Linked DNA regions of Homo sapiens: region 1 is linked to region 2. Evidence: promoter capture Hi-C in human tissues and cell types (Jung and others, 2019). All regions are on one chromosome and are shown on one strand. Each heading gives the region's core, a stretch centred on a gene start or on the middle of the fragment in contact. The rest is flanking DNA. Distances are from core to core; before and after follow the strand shown.

What was found. The method cuts DNA at HindIII sites, captures the fragments that hold promoters and counts their contacts. A contact is called where the count stands out against the background at its distance.
Region 1: a fragment that was not itself captured here is called in contact with the fragment with the promoter of NPPC in region 2 in 2 of the 25 tissues and cell types used here (H1 embryonic stem cells and dorsolateral prefrontal cortex).

Annotation. Positions count from the first base shown.
Region 1 is chr2:232,065,307-232,071,959 of GRCh38, forward strand. The region is part of intron 5 of DIS3L2 (DIS3 like 3'-5' exoribonuclease 2); the gene reads left to right. Among named protein-coding and RNA genes, the nearest start is that of MIR562, 100 kb to the right of the region's middle. The HindIII fragment of the contact is 3,171 bases long and covers 155-3,325 here.
Region 2 is chr2:231,920,599-231,927,645 of GRCh38, forward strand. It overlaps NPPC (natriuretic peptide C), which reads right to left and starts at 5,798. Exons shown (of 3, transcript NM_024409.4): 1 at 5,562-5,798; 2 at 4,807-5,117; 3 at 1,211-1,717. The coding sequence starts at 5,651. The coding sequence ends at 4,827. RefSeq lists silencers at 4,692-4,781, 4,862-4,911, 5,867-6,086 and an enhancer at 6,488-7,047. The HindIII fragment of the contact is 16,124 bases long and covers 1-7,047 here.

The DNA.
Region 1 (6,653 bases), core at 490-2,989, 140 kb after region 2:
GTCTCTTTTTTTTCCTTATAAAAGGTTTATAGTAGTTTGAATTTTCACTTTTTGGTCTATTGTCCATTTCAAGTTAATTTTTATATATAGTGTGAAGTGAGGGCTGAATTTCATCTTTCTCCTGTGGATATCTACTTATTTTAGCACATTTGTTTAAAAGACTCCTTTCCCTATTGAATTACCATGACATCTTTATTGAAAATCAATTTACTATATAAATGTGATTCTATTTCTAGGCTCTATATTCTGTTCCATTAATCTATTTATCTATCCTTCCTTAATTACTGTAGCTTTGTAGTAAGCCTTAATATTTAGTGGTATTTGTTTTTCAAAATTCTTTTGACTCTTTGGGCTCCTGTGTATATTGATGGGAAATTTAGAATTGACTTTATCTACTTCTATGCATAAAGCCTATTTGGATTGCATTGAGTCTGTAGATCAATTTGGGGTCCAAATGGCATAGATTGGAGTTGTCTAATCCATGAACAGATATTTATCTCCATTTATTTAGGTCTTCTTTAATTTCTTTTGACAGGATTTTGTAGTTTTCAGTGTATAAGTTTTGCATATATTTTGTTAGATTTCTTACTAAATCATTCATGTTTTTGATACTATGATAATTGAAATTATCCCCTTAATTTTATTTTCCAGTTGTTCATATCTAGTATATAGAAATTGACTTTTGTATATGTATATGTATATATTTTTTATAATGTCCTGCAACCTAGTTATTAGTTTTAGTACATCTTTAAAGATTCTGTAGGATTTTCTGCATATATATTGTCTGTGAATAAAGGCTGTTTTATGTTTTCTGTTCTAATCTATATGCCTTTTAGTTTTTTCATGCTTTACAAGAAACCTTCACTATGATGTTGAACACAAGTAGTGAGATATTCTTGCCTTGTTCTTGATCTTATGAGGAAAGCCCTCTATCTTTCTCATTAATTATGTTAGTTTTAGGTTTTTCATAGATGCCCTTTATCAAGCTGAGGAAATATCCTTATAGTCTTAGTGGAATTTTCATCATGAATAGAAGTTGAATTATGTCAAATGTGTGTATTGAGATGACTATACAGATTCTTTTCTTTTTCCTGTTAACATGTTGAATTACAGGGATTGATTTTAAAATGTTAAATTAGGTTTTTATTCATTGGTTTGGTTTGCTAATAATTTGTTGACAGATCTAACATGTGTCCTCATCAGGATTATTAACTTGTGACTTACTGGTATTATTATGTCTTTGGTTTTGGTATCAGGGTAATAATACTGGTCTCATAAAGTGAGTTGGGAAATGTTTCCTCTTCCCCTATATTTTGAGAGAGTATGATAGGGTTGGTATTTCCTTTTTAAGTATTTGATAAAATTTACTAGTGAAGGCATATGGGCTTAGAGTATTCTTTTCTAGTGGGTTTTTAATTACAGTTTAAATTTCTTTATTGATATAGAGTGTGATGGTTTTAAACATGACCCAACATTTTTTTTGACATTCCTATTATTGATAACAGATACTAAAGGCTTTTAAATTTTTCTGTTTCTTCTTGTATCTGTCTTGGTAATTTGTTTCATTTAGGGGACTTATTCATTTCATCTAATTTGTAGACTGTATCGGCATAAAGCTGTTCATAATATTCTTTTACTGTCCTTTTAATGTCTGTAAGATTTTTAATGATTGCCCCTCTTTAATTTCTGAAATATTATTGGTAATCATGTGCCTTATTTTTCTTTTTTCTTTATCATTCTAGTGGAAGATTTTATCAATCTTTTCATGTAATAACTTTTGGTTGCATTCATTTTCTCTAGTTTTTGGTCTGATTTTCTATTTCATTGATTTTCTCTCTTAAATTTACTGTATCTTTCCTTCCACTTATTTTGGGTTAAATTAGCTTCTTATACTTCCCACCTCCAGACTTTTGAAGGTGAAGCTTGGCTAATTGATTTAGTCCCTTTTTCCCATTAGAAGCACTTAGAGCTATATCATTTTCTCTAGACGCTACTTTACATGCATTGCACACATGTTAGCGTGTTGTATTTTTATTATTCAGTTCAAAATAAGTTAAAGTTTTCTTTGTATTTTTTTCTTTGACCCATTCTTTATTTTCAGGTGTATAGGTGAATATTCAAATACTTAGGAACTTTTCTAGAATATCATACTACTATTCATTTCTAATTTAATTGTGTTATAGTCAGAGGGCATACTCTGCAAGATATCAAGCTCTTGAAACCTACAGAAATTCATGTGGCTCAGCATATGGTCTATTGTGGTAAACATTCTCTGTGCACTTGAACTTATATCTGCAGTTGTTCAGTGTTATGCTCTGTAAAGGCCACTTAGGTTACAGCTGCTTGCATTGTTCAGGGCTTCTGTTTCCTTACTGGTTTTTGTCTTACTTTATTTAATTGTGAAAATATCTATGATTGGGGATTTGTTTATGTCTCCTTTTACTTTTGTCAGTTTTTGCTTTATGTGGTTTAAAGCTTTTTTATTAGGTGCATATACATTTGTAATCATTATATTTTACTAATACAGTGCCGCTTATCAACATAAAGTGTTCCTCTTTTTCCCTGGTAATGCCTTTTTTCTTGAATCACTGTGTCTAATATTAATATGGGAATGTTTTCAAAGATGGGAGGTAATAGAGAACATTTGTGTGCTGATATGAGAAAGATTTACCATAGAGAGGGAGAGGCAATGAGATGGGGAGAGAAGGATTATCCAAGGAGCAAAACCCTCAGAGCAAGAAGTAGTATTCAGAGCATGTGCTGGGATTGGTCTTTTGCAAAAGAAGTGAATCACTTCATCTGTATTTGCACTGCAGAAGAAGGCAAGGATGATTATAGACATAAGTAGATTTTTAGAGTTGGCTATACGTGAAATCTATATATTTTAGATTTTTAAAATCTAGCAATATGTACTTTACAGTATGCCAGAAACCACTGATCAAAGAAATGTGGTTTCAGTTTTTGTCATCAATATATGAGGGTGGGCCAAGTGCAGTGGCTCACAACTGTAAGCCCAGCACTTTGGGAGGCCAAGGCAGGAGGATCGCTTGAGCCCAGGAGTCCAAGACCAGCCTAGGCAGCAAAGTGAGACCCTATTGCTACTAAAAAAAAAAAAAAAAAATACAAAAGTTAGCTGGGCGTGATGGCATGCAATAGTCCCAGCTACTTGGGAAGCTGAGGCGGGAGGATCACTTGTACCTGGGAGGTTGGGGGTACAATGAGCCATGATTGTGTCACTGCACTCCAGCCTGGGTGACAGGGTGAGACCCTGCCTCAAAAAAAAAAAGTTATATGTATATATATTTATATGAGGGTGGTAATTAAAGTGTTGGCTGATCTTTCAGATAATTGTGGTTAATTTCTTAATACTAAATTGATCCTTTGGAATATCCTCAGGCTCCGGAATTATGGCTGTTATATCACTGTCCTGAATCTCCCTTGTCCTGAAATTTTTTTTATTATATACTGTTTGATTTTCTGAAATGGTCTGCAAATTGAGCTTATTTTTAATTTTAATTTTAATTTTTTTCTTGAGACAGTCTCACTCTGTCAGTCAGGCTGGAGTGCAGTGGCGATCTCGGCTCACTGCAACCTTTGCCTCCCGGGTTCAGGTGATTCTCATGCCTCAGCCACTCGAGTACCTGGGATTACAGGCATGTACCACCATGCCTGACTAATTTTTATATTTGTATTAGAGACAGGGTTTCACCATATTGGCCAGGCTAGTCTCAATCTCCTGGCCTCAAGTGATCTGCCCGCCTCAGCCTCCCAAAGTGCTGGGATTACATGCGTGAGCCACCGAGTCTGGCCTGAGCTTATTTTTTAGTGAGGTCCAGGATATTTAAGTGTGTTTCTAAGATGAAATCTGAGGTAAGGGACTGCAGCTAAGTCTCTCCACACATAAAATCTTTAAATATAGATGATCTTTATTTGACAAGTTGTTTAACCTTTACAGGTTATTTTCTTTCCTGAATGATGTTATATCTCTGCTTTGATTCTCTATCAAAAATTGTTGTGATTCTAAAAGGGGAATAATCTTTCATTCTGGCAAGCAGTTGGAAATTATACCCATAGAAGTAGGCTTCTGTGTATTGTTTTATCAGTGTAGTGTTCTATGAATAAAAATACAGAGACTTGTCTTTTAAAATGATCCTACTTGAGCATTTCTAAGGAAGCTTCAACTTTATTCTTTACTAGTGTTGAAAAATTGGCCATATTCCTCAGATACAGGGATAATCAGTGTAGTTCACTTCCTTGCTGTGGTGATAGATGGAGGAATGGGCATGTGACCCAAATCAACCCCAGCAGACCCAGCCTTGGGACTTATTTGCAGAGTCTCTCATTAAGAGCTTATCGGGTTTTGTTTTTGTTTTAATTTTTTACTGGGATCTCTAAGAGGATGGAATGTAATTCTGGAGCTACTGGTATCCTTGCATCCTTCATCCTTCTCTATGAGGAGAGAAGCTGTCCTGATAATGGAGCAATATTGAGGAAGGCTGAGTTGAGACACATACACACATACACACAGGCACATACACACATCTGTGCACACACTGTCCCACAGATATCATCTGAGCCTCTCAATTTGATCAGTTTGTCTCAATTACATAAGCTAATAAGTTACTTTAAAAATGACAGCCAGTTCAAGTTGGTTTTTCTGTCTCTAGTAGCTAATAGAGGCAGTACTAATACATTGACTATGTTTTAGAGACTTAAGTCAAAATACAGTAAAGAGTATGAGTCAAAGAAAAGCAACCACCCATGTACAAGGTATATCTATATACATGTATATATGTTCATCCACTAAATTTCAATAATTATTCCTCCTGTGAACTCTGTTCAAGTAGAAATCCAGTCCTTCTATCTCTGTTAGAAATTCTTTCGTAGGGGCGGAGGTTGCAGTGAGCCAAGATCGTGCCACTGCACGCCAGCCTGGGCAACAGAGGTGAGATTCCGTCTCAAAGAAAAGAAAAGAAAAAGAAAAATTCTTTCCTAGGGCTTGCTTTTCTAGTTTACCCAGATTTACTTCCTGCCTTTTTGTTTGTTTGTTTTTTTCCTGTTTCTGAGCTTTAGAACTTGGTGTGATATTCTGTCAAATTGCCTAATGCTCTCTGTTTATTTCTGGCATCAAAAATATTTATCACCTTGCTACTGAGAGAACTCTAGTTGGATCCTGCTGTGTTCTATGAACTGGGTCTCCTCTGGGAAGTATGCCTGCTTCTCACTCTTCGTTAGTGATTCAGTAAGGAGGCTTGCTTGTACCGGAGTTAGGTTATGGTTCTTTTTTTTTTTTTTTGAGATGGAGTCTCACTCTGTCGCCCAGGCTGGAGTGCAGTGGCGCCATCTCCAGTCACTGCAACCTTCACCTCCCGGGTTCAAGTGATTCTCCTGTCTCAGCCTCCCTAGTAGCTGGGACTACAGGCGCGTACCACCACACCCAGCTAACGTTTGTATTTTTAGTAGAGACAGGGTTTCACCATGTTGGCCAGGATGGTCTCGATCTCTTGACCTTGTGATCTGCCCCCCTCGGCCTCCCAAAGTGTGGAATTACAGGCGTGAGCCACTGCGCCCAGCCAGGTTATGGTTCTTTAGTTGATTGTGGTGGCCATGCAGGAGAGGAGAGAGGGCACATGTTACAGAACACTTCTAATTCTGATTCAAACATGGGAACAGTGTCCAGAGGCCCTATAGCCTGACCCTTAGATCTCTGAACTCTTCTTCTCCTGCAGTCCAAGCCAGGTCTGCATAGAGGAGGGCTCCTTAACGGGTGCTGATTATTTCTCCAAATCTATTTTTCTTTTTTTTCTTAAAAGAGTTAAAACATAATTCAGCCATTTTTAAAGGGAGTTAATATAGTTTTCTGTACTGTATCACAAAGAATCAGAAAGAGAGAGACAGATCCTGCTGTTCTGAGTTGTTAGAGACCTATTCTTGGCTCGCTGTGGTGGCTCTTGCCTATAATCCCAGCACTTTGGGAGGCTGAGGCAGGAGGATCTTGAGAACCCAGGAGTTCTAGACCAGCCTGGGCAACATAGTGACCCTGTCTCTACAAAAAATAAAGAAAAGGTAGCCAGGCATGTTGGTGTATGCTGGTAGTCCCAGCTGTTCGGGAGGCTGAGGTGGGAGGATAGCTTGAGCCTGGGAGGTCGAGGCTGCAGTGAGCTGTGATCACACTAGTGCACTCCACCCTGGGCAACAGAGTGAGACCCTGTCTCAAAAAAAAGAAAAAAAAAAAAGAAACCTGTTATTGAGCTGGTGGGATTTAACCCAAGACAGAGTTTGCAGTGGTCTGTGAATGGTGTATAATGGAAGGAAATGGCAGATAAGATTAAAATAACTGAAAAAGGTCAGTGGACATTGAGAAAGTCAAGGTCTTGTAAGCCAAAGAATAGAGAAGTAGTTTCTCTTTTTAAAATAGAGACGAGGTCTCACTATGTTGCCCAGGTTGGTCTCAAACTCCTGGGCTCAAGCAGTCCTCCACCTTGGCCTCCCAAAATGCTGGGATTATAGACATGAGCCACTGTACCTGGCTGATAAGTAGTTTCTCTAGGAAAGAGAAACCCATGGGAATGTTTTTGAATAAGAGGATAATCAGAATTTTTATTTCTGGAGATTTGTAGGGTGGTGTCACTTAGAAGACCAGGGAATTTGTG
Region 2 (7,047 bases), core at 4,548-7,047:
ACTGCTCCCAATTCCCCTGAGCAGGGTGCCCCCAATCCACTGATGTTACTGGCCCAAGAGGGTATGTTCCCACCTTCCCCTAACAGGGGACAGATGACAGGGAAGGCTGCACAGGGCTGTCATCCAACCAAGCATGTAGTGAGAGTACCTCGGAATTATTTCAAAGTTTCCTGCTGGTTTTAGGAGAAGAGATTCTAATCTAAATTATATTCATAAATTCTAAATTATATTCATAATTCCACACTCATAGCTCCATGGGGCATAGGAAATGTAATTGTTAGTGGCTTCAAGTGAAAAGAAAACCCACAACCCTCCCACAAAGCGCAGCACACTACAGATATGAAATTTGATAACGCCTTTTCCTTCTCTCCAAGGTCTCGGCTCCCAGCTGACCATGGCATTCATTATGAGGCACAAACTACCCATCCTAGGCTTTGTGAGCGAGTCTAGAAAACAGAGTTGCTGAGATTCGTAAGGTGACCTGGCCAATTCTGCAAGATATGCAGAAGCCTTCTAAATCTCCCCCAAACAGAGAGGGAGTTAGCAGCTATTTCTTCCACTAACAGCAGAAGATGGAGTAGAATTTACAGGACCCTAAGTCAGCTGAATTCAAAATTAATTTTTTTTTTGAGATGGAGTCTTGCTCTGTTGCCCAGGATTGGGGTGCCGTCTGTGATCTCGGCTCACTGCAACCTCTGCCTCCTGGGTTCAAGCAATTCTCCTGCCTCAGCCTCCCGAGTAGCTGGGATTACAGGCACCTGCCACCACGCCCGGCAATTTTGGTAATTTTAGTAGAGATGGGGTTTCACCATATTGGCCAGGCTGGTCTTGAACTCCTGACCTCAGATGACCCACCCACCTTGGCCTCCCAAAGTGCTGGGATTACAGGCACCTGCCACCACGCCCGGCCGTCATTAATTTAATTCATAACATCTGACTTCCTAGCGGTCAGGTGTTTGAGCAGAGCTTCCTGACCTGGCTGAGCTGGTCAGAATCACTTGGGACGAAACTTACACAGCCAGTCCTATCAGATTCGGAGAAGGCAGGAATCTGTATTTTTAGCAAGGTCTCCAGGGGATTCTGACACAGATAAATCCAGAATTGGGAATCTGCCTGTCAGACCTATTTGGAGGCAATGCCTTTTCTTCACATTCTCCCTCTTTCTCAGCCTAAGTCCTAAAAAATACAGGCAACAAGTAAATAAAGACAGTTTTCAAGATATTCATGGAATGACTTTTTTTTTTTTACATTTTTTTTAACTAGTTAGGACAAAAACATTACAATGATTGACTTCTTTCATTTAGTTACATAAATAAAATTTTTATAAATATCTCTTTATAAACAATATAAATAGCTTTACAACATAAATACATTTATGCATGACATGAATTTACAAACAGCAATGTTTTACAGCTGGTTCTGTCAGTCTCTTAAAAACTGTCCCTTGTCATCAAGTCGGTGTAGGTGTGTGTGTTTCATGTATATAATATATATATAATATATAACTTTTTATTTTTCATTTTAAAAAAACAAATAATAAAATCACAACCCCCTCCCCAAATAATAATAAAACAGCTGGTGTTGTGTATTCCCAGTACCAGGAAAAAAAAAGAAAGAAAGAAAGAAATGTAAAAGCCACATTGCGTTGGAGGTGTTTCCAGATGCTGGAGGCTGATGACCAAAGATGACCTCAGCACAACGGAGCCAGTTCCCGATCCTGAAACACAGAGTGAACACGGGACGCTCAGTTCTGGCCCCTTAGCTGAGAAATCCTAGCAGGCAGGGTGGTTCTAGAACCTTTCCTCCCCTTCTCCCAGCAGCTTGAGGGATGTTCCCCTACCTCCGCCACCCCCCCAACCAGGCCTTCCTGCAGAGGGGAGGAGCCCCCCATTGCGCACTCCCCAGGCCCCTTCTGCTTTGCTGCCCCAGTACAAGTGGAACCAGCGTGTCTGCAACACTCCTTCTTCCCCCAGTCTAACCACAGGCCTTGCCCTTGGCACTCAGGGAAGCGCAGTGAGAGAAAGAGAATGGAAAATCTCCCATCCCTTTTTTGCTACAACGCAAACCCTCAGTCAGTGCTCGCCCGGGGTTCGTGTGTCTGAGTGACCATGGATGGAAGGAGAAGAGAGACATCTCAGGATCAGGAATCCTGGGCTCAAATCTCTACTCTGACGTTGGGTCCCTGGATGACCCTGGATAGCTGGGAGTGTTCACCCATAAAATTGGATAATAGCCACCTCCTAGGGCTGGCTTTCAGATTCAACAGGGAGCCTCGGATCGGGCATCGGCAGTGTCTGGGTCACAGCTGCCACCCAGTAAACAGCACCTCCTTCCCTAGCTGGTTGTGCAGAGGAAAGGGTCTGGGTCCAGGTCCCCTTCAGGAGCAGAGGAAATGGTGTCTCACACCAGCCTTGGGGAAATGCACAGTCATGGGCTCTGAGTGTTGTTAGGGTAAACTCTCTGCTAATGGGTGTGTGGGTGCCCCGGGGCCCAAGGAAGGTGGCCTTCAGGGGCGTTCAGTGCCCTCCCAAAGGACAGCATGCACAGAGGGGACCTGGGCCAGAATGGCTTGATGAACCCTCCCCCACTCCCTTCTCTGGCTCTGCCGTGAGTTTACACAGATGACAGCTGTCTGTGATGTTGCTGGGCCCCAGGGGCAAAGTGTTCATTCAGGTTTCACCTACACCCAGTCTCTGTCATTAGCATTTTACAATGAATACCTAGAACCATCAACCACCATCATTACGGTGGCTTAGAGCCCAGGTCACCCACTGCGTGGAGAAACAGCCACAACCTCAAAGAGTTTTCATTAATGTGAAAAATCTAAGCTGTCTTTCTCTTTACGCCCAGTGATATATCCTGGGCATCGTCACCAGGAGCCTGCAGGAATGATGTTCTGCTCTCTCACTGGGAATGGGGGGCAGTGAGGGTGGGGTTTTTATTTTTCATTTAAAAAATCCCAAATAATAAATCCACACCGCCCTTCCCAAATAATAATAAAACAGCTGGTGTTGGGCGTAAGCCGGTGTTGAAGGTGTCGACGGTAAGTGTTCATCTATGCTAAGAGAGCTGGTAGGAGATTATTGAACCCCCCTGATCAAAGGGGTCGAGAATTCTTAACAATGTGGATTCCTCCTACACAGCATCTTTCACCACCCGTTTGGCCATCACTTGGTGACCACAGACATCCAGGCCCAAGAACAAAGCCCCTGTGGGGATGCGCATTCCAGGTACGAACCAATGGAGAGTCACTAACATTTGCTCAGGTTCTAAAGTTTGAACTTGATGCTTAAATCAAACTGAAAATTTGAGGCCTCAGACTCCGTCTCTTTGTTGTTTAGACAGGAGAGAAGAGAGCAAAGGCATTCCAAGGGTAGCTACTGAAGGCTGGTCCCCAAGTGTCAGAATCATTCTTCTCCCTGTGCAGGGGAGAGTCAAGATCACAGACAACTACAGCCTTTGCAGAACTGGGGAGAGGCCCACAGCCGAGTGAGGTCTGGCTGCAAAGAGAGGAAGGGCACTGGTTAAAACCTCGGGCAGGTGGGAGTGGCCATGGGCCAGGGTGTGCTGGTTTCTCTGGTCATTGACAAATATTTCCACGAGTCTGTTCGGGGTGCAGTGGGTCCTAGAGTGCCTTAGGCCAGCACTTCGCCCTTAAGCTGTTCAATATGGAGAGGTGAATGGGTTCACAAACTGTGAAAAAGTGTTCTGTACTGTAAAAAAGAGACAGTGTGCTGGACAGGCGCTCTTGTTTCCCTCCGGGAGAAGATCCGACACTGACAAGGGTTTCTGGGGAGGAGACAGCAGCTTGCCCGTAGCCTGGGATGGGACAGTCAAGGTGTGGGACAGGCAGTGGCAGCTGCTGAGCTGGAGGCAAGAAAGCGAGAAAGCCAGGTAAGCCTGATCCTAACGCACATGACTGTCAATGTCAGAGGCTGGGATGTTATTCAGTGGGCACGGGCAGGCGGCAGGAATAGAGAGGAGGGAAAGAGGAGAGGTGAGGCTCTCTGCAGCAGTAAATTACCACCACGCGGCACCCGGCAGGGGGTGGCGGTAGGGCAGAGGTTTCCAGCCCTAGTGCGGGGTGAGACCCCACACCAGAAACGGAGCCCAGAGCACCGGTTGGGTCGGGACAGGGTTGGTGAGGGACTCTGGGACGTGTTGAGTTCGAGGCTGGGGCAAATAATATTTACTTTAGTGTCTTTCCTATTCCCTGAAATAGTGCCACAAGCACTGAGATTCACCCCCGAAGCCACCAGGCTGCAGCTGCCTCAGGACCCTGGACAGACCAGTTTGCCCACTGCCTGGGTTTAGAGAAGGGACAGGAATCGGAGTGTCCCAGGCAGAAGGGCGCTCTGACAGTGCCAGCAGAGGGCTACTCTCACTACAGGGGGCATGGTGGCCAGCAGATGATCGATGTCCCCTGGACTTGTGGGTGTAACCTTCCTTCTCTGCTCCCACAAACCCATGATCTCCTCTCAATCCCCCCACCAGCTGGCCAATAGGGGCCAGTGCTGCTAGTTCAGCTACGGTTCAGGGGTGGGTGAGACACCACCAAGCCTGTTTCTGCTTCTCCAGAAGAAGCCAGGTGGGTTCAACCAGGCTGAGCCGTTTCTGACCTTGCCAAAGTTCCCCGATCACGTTATCCTTCGCTTTCTTTGTCTGTAAAGTGGGATAATAAAGGGGGCGGCTGGCAAACGCCTAGCACAACTTGAGCAAAGGCGGCTCGCGCGCCTCCGAAGGCCGGCTGGGCGGCGGGCGGTCCCGGGCCGGGCTGGGGCTGGGCGTCGGGTGGGCCGTACTCACCGCCGCCAGGGGGCGCCGCACTAACATCCCAGGCCGCTCATGGAGCCGATTCGGTCCAGCTTGAGGCCGAAGCAGCCCTTGGACAAGCCCTTCTTGTTGGCTCCTTTGTATTTGCGCGCGTTGGGGTGCTCTTGCAGAAGGCGAGCCCACGCTGCCCGCGACTTGGTGTCCACGCGCAGGTCCCGGAGCAGTCGCGACCGGTCGCCCTTGAGATTGGCGCCCCCGCCCCCGGGAGCCTTGTCGCCCTTCTTCTGACCGCCGCCCGCAGCCTGCGGCTCGGCCAGCTCCTCTGCCGGCGGGGTTCGCGGGACCTGTCCGAGGAAAGAGCGGGCAGGTGAAGGGACACGCGGCTGCAGCACGGGGGACTCTGATGCTCCAGCCCCACGCGCCCGCCGGCGCGGGGTGTCCCTCCCAAGCCCAGAGCCGCCCCCACCGATGCCGGCCAGCTTGGCCCCGCATCCACCTGCCACGCGGCCGCCTTCGCCGCTCCCTCCGGAAGCCCCCTGCCCTCCCTTTGCTGCTCGCCGGGCAGGCCACACTGGGGTAGGGGGCTGCGCATGGGCCGATGTTCTCCGGAGGCTGGAGAAGTGGACCCCCGAATCCGCGCTTCGAGGGCTCCCCGGCTCTCGCCCACGCGCATCTCGGAGGAGACAGCCGCCTGCCTTCCCTCTCTCCTGGGTCCTGCGCGCCGCATTCTCCAAGCCCCCAGCCTCCCACGCCTCTCCCAGGCTCGGCGTCCCCACGACAGCACCCACCTTCGGCGGCGCCCCGGGCTTGGCTTCGGAGGGCCGGAGGGAGAGCAGCGTGAGCAGCAGGGCGCAGGCCAGCAGCTGGGAGAGATGCATGGTGCCGCTGGGGTCGAGGGGCGCACACGGGCGGCAGCGAGGGCGCGCAGGTCGGCGGGCAGACCAGCAGGGGGATGCGGAGCAGGCTGGCTGGGCTGCAGGGCGAGCAGGGTCCCAGTGCTGCGCGGCGCCGGCTGGGTGCGCTCTGAGCCCGTGACTCTGCTCGCGCCTTTATAATCCAACCTGCCGCTGATGTCATCCTCCCGCCCACCGGGCCGCCCGGGCCAATGACACCACGCACGCGGCCGCGCCGAGGGCCGGGAGGGGGCCGCGGGGGCTCCCCTCCCTTATCCCACCCCGGAGGGATCCCGCGGCTCGGCGGGCTCGCTCCAGGCTGCACTTGGAGCTGCAGAGCTGAGCGCACAGGGGAACTCCATTTGCAGCGAGCGCGCGCCCTGGCCTGCCGAGCATCGGTGCGCCTGGTGCCCTGTGCACCCACTAGGTCCTCATCGCACTCACTCTACCTGGAAGGGATACGTAGCCCTCTTTGCAGGTGCAAAGACAGGCTCAGAGGAATGAAGTCACTTGCCCAAAGTCATACAGGCATAAAGTTGGCGCTGCCCGAAATCCACGCAGCCCTGCTTGTCGCCAAACTCTTCCCTGGGCACCTGACAGCCGCGGGATGGCATTGCAGCTCCGCCTTTCACCTGCCGGTCAGGGCGGGAGCGCAGACCACAGCGACGTCGTTAGGTTGGGGAGGCAGAGGATGGGGTTGGAGGACTGGGGTGGGAGGCGCAGGGAGAGCGGGGTTCGCCTGGGCCGCAGGGGGGAGCGCAAGTCTTCCACACTGGAGAGTGCAGGGGTGTCGCCAGCCTGAGTGTTTGAGCGCAAGGCGGGAACGAGGGGACTGCGAGCGCGGAACCAAGATATTCATGCTCATGCGTGTGCTCCGCGGCATCGTATGCTCGCCAGTTACTGCTCTAGGTTCACGTTCAGCCGGTTTCGGCCACACAGAACGTCCCGGGGTCTGACTCCGCTGGTGAACTCCCTCTGTGGGAACAATGCGCACCTGACCTTGCCTGCACCCACGCGAGGATCCGCTGCTGGGGGAAGCCCGCTCCAGTATCCTGTGCACTTTCACAGGCTGGGGAGAGAGCTTCCTAGCCAGCGGCCCAGTCCAGCCTCTGCCAGCCGTGACAGGTGGTCAACTTCCCGTTTTTGACTGTAGAGAGGTCCCCGTGGCTCTCGGGACATGGCCACATATCCCTACCACTCACGAACTTGCTCTCCTTGCACTGGGCTTCTCGGTCCCTTGGACACTAAGGAGTGTGGTGGGCATTTGGGCACTGCGGTGTGGGCCGCAGAGGCGGAGAGCCCAGATCCCCCGAATTGATTGAAGAGCAGGAATCTATGACTGGCTGCTGCTGAGCAGGACGCAGGCTGGAGAGAGAACAAA